2 separate regions of the Homo sapiens genome follow, and region 1 is linked to region 2. Evidence: promoter capture Hi-C in 16 types of primary human blood cells and fetal thymus (Javierre and others, 2016). All regions are on one chromosome and are shown on one strand. The core of a region is centred on a gene start or on the middle of the fragment in contact, and the rest is flanking DNA. Distances in the headings are between cores, read along the strand shown. Region 1 overlaps LOC124907869 (a long non-coding RNA gene). Region 2 holds the start of IL36A (interleukin 36 alpha).

Region 1 (3,120 bases), core at 410-2,909, 400 kb before region 2:
CCATAGCCTCAGGTAGGTGTGTATGATCAACTGATAGAAGAACAATCCTGGGCCTTGTTGGTGTGAGCTGAAATAGACTGTTATCCACTGAAGTAGACTGCTATCATACTACAGCCCTACTCAAGGTGGCCCTCAAAATAGCCATGAGGGGAAATCTTCCCAGCAATCAGAGCTGAATAGTGTATTTGGCCATCCACTTTGTATAGAGGGAGAAGAGGCCTGAAGTAGGTATGAGTATGGACTCCTGAGCTGTGGCAAATGGCTTGGCTAGTTGGTCAGGGACCTGGAAGGACCAAGTTAGGCAAAAGGGAGACAAGGAGATTTTGTATTTTTAGTAGAGATGCAGTTTCGCCATGTTGGCCAGGCTGGTCTCGAACTCCTAACCTCAGGTGATCCGCCCACCTCGGCCTCCCAAACTGCTGGGATTACAGTCGTGAGCCACCATGCCTGGCCTAGTAATTAACTTTACATATTTTGACATTCATAATTAACATGTATAAAATCAAGAAATAGCTCTACTGTCCTTCAACTATATAAGGATATTTGATTACATTAACCTCACATCCTCTCCCCCTTACATGCTGTGTTTCTCTTGCTCTTTTGGGCCCAGAAGACATTCTTACAGGGTACTGTACCATCAGTGTTCTTTGTTCTTTCCTGCGTCTCTGATCTTCCTGGATTACTCTTCTGCATAAGCACATCCTTCAGAATTTATGGCAGCTCTTTTTGGAGCAAACCCTCTATATCGTTAGCCCAAAAATGTCTTTATTTTACTGTCATTCTTGAAATATATTTTTGTTGAATATATAATTCCAAGTGAACAGCCTGTGTAGAAAAAAGTTAACACAGCAGGCCTGAGCCTGCTATTCTCGGAAAAGTCGGCTTGCAAGGTTGGCCCTTGGCTGGCATCTAGTCAGTTGGATTTCCATCATTCTCTCATCGGAGTGTCTCACTGTATCTAAAGTGTTCAGCTTATGCTGAACACCTCTTTTCCTTCTGAGAGTCTAGAATTTTGGTACATGCCAGACAGTGGACGCCAATGTAAGTACCTTCCCTGCATTAAAACCTTACACACTGAGTCTCTAATGAGCCTCCCTGGTAGACAATGTTTCACATGTGTTGTCATAACCTGTTGCTGGAGGAATTACGTGCATCCTGTGGATTCCATTGGGAAAGGACTCTTGGAAGCTTGTGTTGCACCCAGTAGGAACTTGGCCTGGCCTGGCACCCCATGTATTACCTGGCCCCTTTAATGATGATGTTTGAGTCTCTGATTTTCAGTGTTAACTTGGATCCTGTGTCCAATAGTTCCTGAAAGGTCGATTATTCCCTTTTCCCCAGTGTACATTTACCTGAGTACATGCCCTCAGGTCTTTCTGGAGAAGGATTGGAGGGAATCATTACCACATACATTTGCCGTGATGTAGGATCCTCCCTTATGTGGGCTGGCATCCCATTCAGTCAAGGGGTACTGGCTCAGGTCTAGAAACTGATCAAAGGATCATAGTTTTTTATTGAGATGTGTCTTGAGCCTTGATCATTTCTGATTCCCTCTGATTGCATAAATTAAGCTGTATTTTGCCCTTAGGAAAATTATGTCCTATTATCATTTCTATAATACTCTCTCTCTTTTTTTTTGAGACAGAATCTCATTCTGTTACCCAGGCTAGAGTGCAATAGCACCATCTCGGCTCATTGCAACCTCTGCCTCCTGGGTTCAAGCGATTCTCCTGCCTCAGCCTCCTGAGTAGTAGGGATTATAGGCACCCACCACCACGCCTGGCTAATTTTTTGTATTTTTAGTGGAGACTGGGGTGTTTCACCATGTTGGCCAGGCTGGTCTTGAACTCCTGACCTCAGGTGATCCACCCACCTAGGCCTCCCAAAGTGCTGGGATTACAGGCGTAAGCCACAGCGCCTGGCCCATCTCTATAATTCTCTATGGGAACAGACTCCCCTGCCTGTCATACATTACATCTGTTCTTGCCATGTATTACAGCAATCTCACCCAGCATTCTTCTGGCAGTGAAGTGTTGTCACCTGGCCTCTATTATTTCAGGACTCATCCTCATTAGTATTGGGAACATAGCTCTGTAACATCATCTCCCACGATCAGCCCACAGTCACCACCAAGCTTCTTGCTGATGCTGGTGGCCCCATTGAACAGCACATTCCTCCTCGTTTGGATAAACAGAAGGTGCCCACGGCTCCCCTGTGGACTGCGGTGACCTGGTGGGTTTTCTTTCCTCAGTAGCATATCCACTCCAGCATGCCTGCTTCTCTGAGCCACCTCATTCCTGTATCCACTATTGCACGGCATTTCTGGCAGTTCTGCTTTCCTGGGGGATATTGCTTTTTCCAGGCTTCCATGAGACCATTGAGTGGAGTGTTAGTACTATCTTCACCTCCTTGCTGGGGTGTGAATCCCATACCCCACAGCAGCACTCTCGCATCAATAAACTTCCCTTTATCCAACTTTGTCCCACTTGATGCAGCATGAGGAGAGCCAGCCCCGTGTGTCTCCCCAGCACCTACTGGACATTTGGCCACGTCCTGTGGTTCCTTCATGTATCATTCTTTCCTCCCTTAGTAGACCGAGTATCTTCCTGTCAGATGGCCAAGCAGCAGCCCCTAAGCAGCAGCCCCTAAGCAGCAGCCTGGGGGAGCCACAGCTGCTATGTATCAAGCACAAGGCAAGGCCTGGCTGACATGCATGGTCAGGAAAGCAACAAGGAGCCATTTTTTAGATCAGGCAGTTTATATTACTCATACAGATGGTGAAAGCGCAAGTAGACAGAGGTGCCAGGTCCCTGTGACCCTTGCACAGGGCGGCACCAAAACAACAGGGGCCAAATGGCAGCAACATGAGTGCCAGGTGAAGCCCATACCACACTGCAGCCAAGCAGCTTTATAGCTGGTAGCTATGCACATGCTCTCAGGGATGGGAAGGCATAATTCTAGGTGGTCCCCAAATTCCCACTCCCTCATATACATGCCTTGTATCATCGCCTCCCGTCGAGTGTGGGTGCTAATTCTAAGCTACAGACAAGCATTTTCCCCTTCCTTCCTAAGCTACAGCCAAGCCTGCCTGCCTGCCTTCCTTCCTTCCTAAGCTACAGT
Region 2 (3,001 bases), core at 375-2,874:
CTGGGATTACAGACATGAGCCATTGTGCTTCAACTTTAAGTTTTTTAGTCATAATTGTGTAAGCTGAACCAATTAAGATGTCTATGATATTGGCTATCATTTCTGCTGTTAATATTCAGTCCTCTTCAACTAGGGCACAAAAAGATTAGTTTTTTCCTTGCAAAGTGATGTGGATGGTCTGCTGCTGCAGGTGCTATTTTCAATATTGTCTCACTTCTTAAAATGAGTTATCCATTGTAAACTGCTGATTTCTTTGGGTCATTGTCCCCACAAACTTTTTATAAGCCATCAATGATTTCACCATTCTTCCACCCAAGTTTCACCATAAATTTGATTTTTGTTCTTGCTTCAATTTTAGAAGAATTCATGTTGATCTTATAGGGGCTCTTTTCAAACTGATGTCTTACCTTTCTTAGTGCCTCAAACTAGATCCTGTTCAAACACCTTATAACAAGTTAGTAGGAGTTTATTTTGGTGCAAAATAATTCAAAATCCATGCATAGTTTTTTTCATAATATGCATTTTCCATGAACTTTTTGATGACCTCTTGTATGAAAGGGGATTTATTAGGGGAATGAACTCATGCAATTTTGGAGGCTGAGAAATCCCATGACAGACCACCTGCAAGCTGGAGACCCTGGGATGCAGGTAACATGCTCAGTTCAAGTCCTAAAGCCTCAGAACTAGGAAGCCACTGGTGTAATTCTCACTTTGGGATAGAAAGCCTGAGAACCCAGGGAGATGCTGATATTAAGTCCTGGAGTCCAAAGTCTGGAGTTATAATGTCCAAAGGCAGGAGAGAATGCCCCAGCTCCAGGAGAGACAGAAAATCACCTTTTCTCTGTCTTTTCCATGCCATCCATGCCCCCGGCCAGTTGGATGGATCCCACCTACGTTGAGGGTAGATGTTCCCCACTAGTACACTGACTTACACACCAATCTTCTTTGGAAACACCCTCATAGACTTACCCCAAACTAATGTATTACCAGTTCTTTAAGTATTCCTTAAACCAGTCAAATTGACACTTAAAATTTACTATCACGCTACCTATACTAGAGATAGTGATCTAGAGTCCATTGAGGTGGCTAGAGTGCTCAGGAGCTGGCTTTGCTACAGTAATACTCCCTTCTTCCATGGAGAAGCAGCATGCACAGTGGCTCTGAGAAGCTGGAGGAGGGTCACTGGAGTGAGTGGGCTTCTGGTCTGAAATTGACCAAGAATATAGTTCCTGTGGACCAGGAGTGATTAGAAGCTACAGAGGTCTTAAGAGACCTATCCCTCCTCAGTCTACCTTGCACTTACTGAGGGCTCCCACTCTTAGGAATAATTCCATCGTTTCATTTTGTGGCATCAGAGATGAGTCATTGACCCGGAAGAAGTCCCGTAATGTTTCTCAACTCAGTATCTGTGACTATATTTCCTGCTCTTAAAAGTTTAGCATGCCCTCATGTTTCAGGTTGCTTGGAGAAGTCTTAACCATGCTGTTCACATAAAGAGTCACTAAATCCTCTGGCATCAGGAACTAGAAAATATCCTGAGTGTTGGGCAGTGCCAGACTTAGTGAGGCAGAACTTCCTTCCTTGCCCATGTGGATAAAAGGCCTGGGCCCTGTTACAGCCTGTCAGAAAACCCAAGTGCAGTAGAAGCCATTGTTCATAATGGTAGGGATACAGGGTCCTTCGTAACAGATTATCAGTGTGGCCTATGCTGGAAAGTCTGGTGACCTCTGATTTTTTTTGCTTCCAGGTCTTTGGCCTTGGCACTCTTTGTCATATTAGAGTTCCTGGGTCTAGGCCTGGGCAGGATTCATAGGTGCAGCTGCTTCTGCTGGAGGTAGACTGCATCCAACAAAGTAAGGGTGCTGGGTGAGTTCTGGGAGTATAGATTCTGACTGGGGTCACTGCTGGGCTGGCCGCCAGTCTTTCATCTGACCCAGGGTTAAACTGTGGCTTGGGACTGACTCAGGTCCTCTCTTGGGGTCGGTCTGCACATAAAAGGACTCCTATCCTTGGCAGTTCTGAAACAACACCACCACAATGGAAAAAGGTAAAGATCCTCGTGGAAGGGCGAAAAATTGACAAGGGGGTGATATTCTGTGCTCTCATTCTTACTAATTTACATTTTGACTTTCTCAACAGCATTGAAAATTGACACACCTCAGCAGGGGAGCATTCAGGATATCAATCATCGGGTGTGGGTTCTTCAGGACCAGACGCTCATAGCAGTCCCGAGGAAGGACCGTATGTCTCCAGGTGAGTAGCCACGGTCTGTGAAAGGCAGCTCCTTTGGCCAGTGCTGTTGTGTGTTTGGTGCTCAGATGTTATTCCACAGTGGGCTTGTTAACCGGGCATATCTACAGAGAGGAGCATCTCACAGACAATAATGAATAGAGGGTGAGCATAAGGTTGTTCTGGGACTATGGTCATGAAGTCAGAGAAGAGAGAGAAGGCTTAAGGGAGACTGAAGGGTCAGCCTATGAAAAACAGTGGAAGACGTATTCTGAGAAACTTCAAGGAGTAAGAGTAGGACAAAAGAGGGTAATCTATGGGAGGACCAGTTTTTGAATCCATGAAAGACTGACTTTTCTAATGGAAAGTGTTCCCCAAACATAGGATGGGTGTCCCGGTTAGGTGGTGGGTGGTGAGGTGACCATTCTATGAGTGCACTGTGAGTGTCAGTTAGCAGATTCCCTTAAAACTCTGGCTCAGAGGTACCACCCTGGAAATGGCAGCTGAACACCACTTTTCACATCGTGTTCCCAGTCACTATTGCCTTAATCTCATGCCGACATGTGGAGACCCTTGAGAAAGACAGAGGGAACCCCATCTACCTGGGCCTGAATGGACTCAATCTCTGCCTGATGTGTGCTAAAGTCGGGGACCAGCCCACACTGCAGCTGAAGGTGAGTGTGGAAGACAGGTCCTGCCATTTATTTGATGGAAACTCAGATTTCAGGATCTTTTAAAAGACAATGTACTTATTATGCTCATGCATTTTTAT

The links. Contacts are between HindIII fragments. The CHiCAGO score rates a contact against its expected background, and 5 or more counts as called.
Region 1: a contact is called between a fragment that was not itself captured here and the fragment with the promoter of IL36A in region 2, in 1 of 17 cell types (M2 macrophages). The highest score is 5.2, in M2 macrophages.

Annotation. Positions count from the first base shown.
Region 1 is chr2:112,604,012-112,607,131 of GRCh38, forward strand. The region is part of intron 1 of LOC124907869 (a long non-coding RNA gene); the gene reads left to right. Among named protein-coding and RNA genes, the nearest start is that of CHCHD5, 21 kb to the left of the region's middle. The HindIII fragment of the contact is 946 bases long and covers 1,187-2,132 here.
Region 2 is chr2:113,003,835-113,006,835 of GRCh38, forward strand. IL36A (interleukin 36 alpha) reads left to right here and starts at 1,625. Exons shown (of 4, transcript NM_014440.3): 1 at 1,625-2,047; 2 at 2,140-2,253; 3 at 2,764-2,903. The coding sequence starts at 2,038. The HindIII fragment of the contact is 6,987 bases long and covers 1-3,001 here.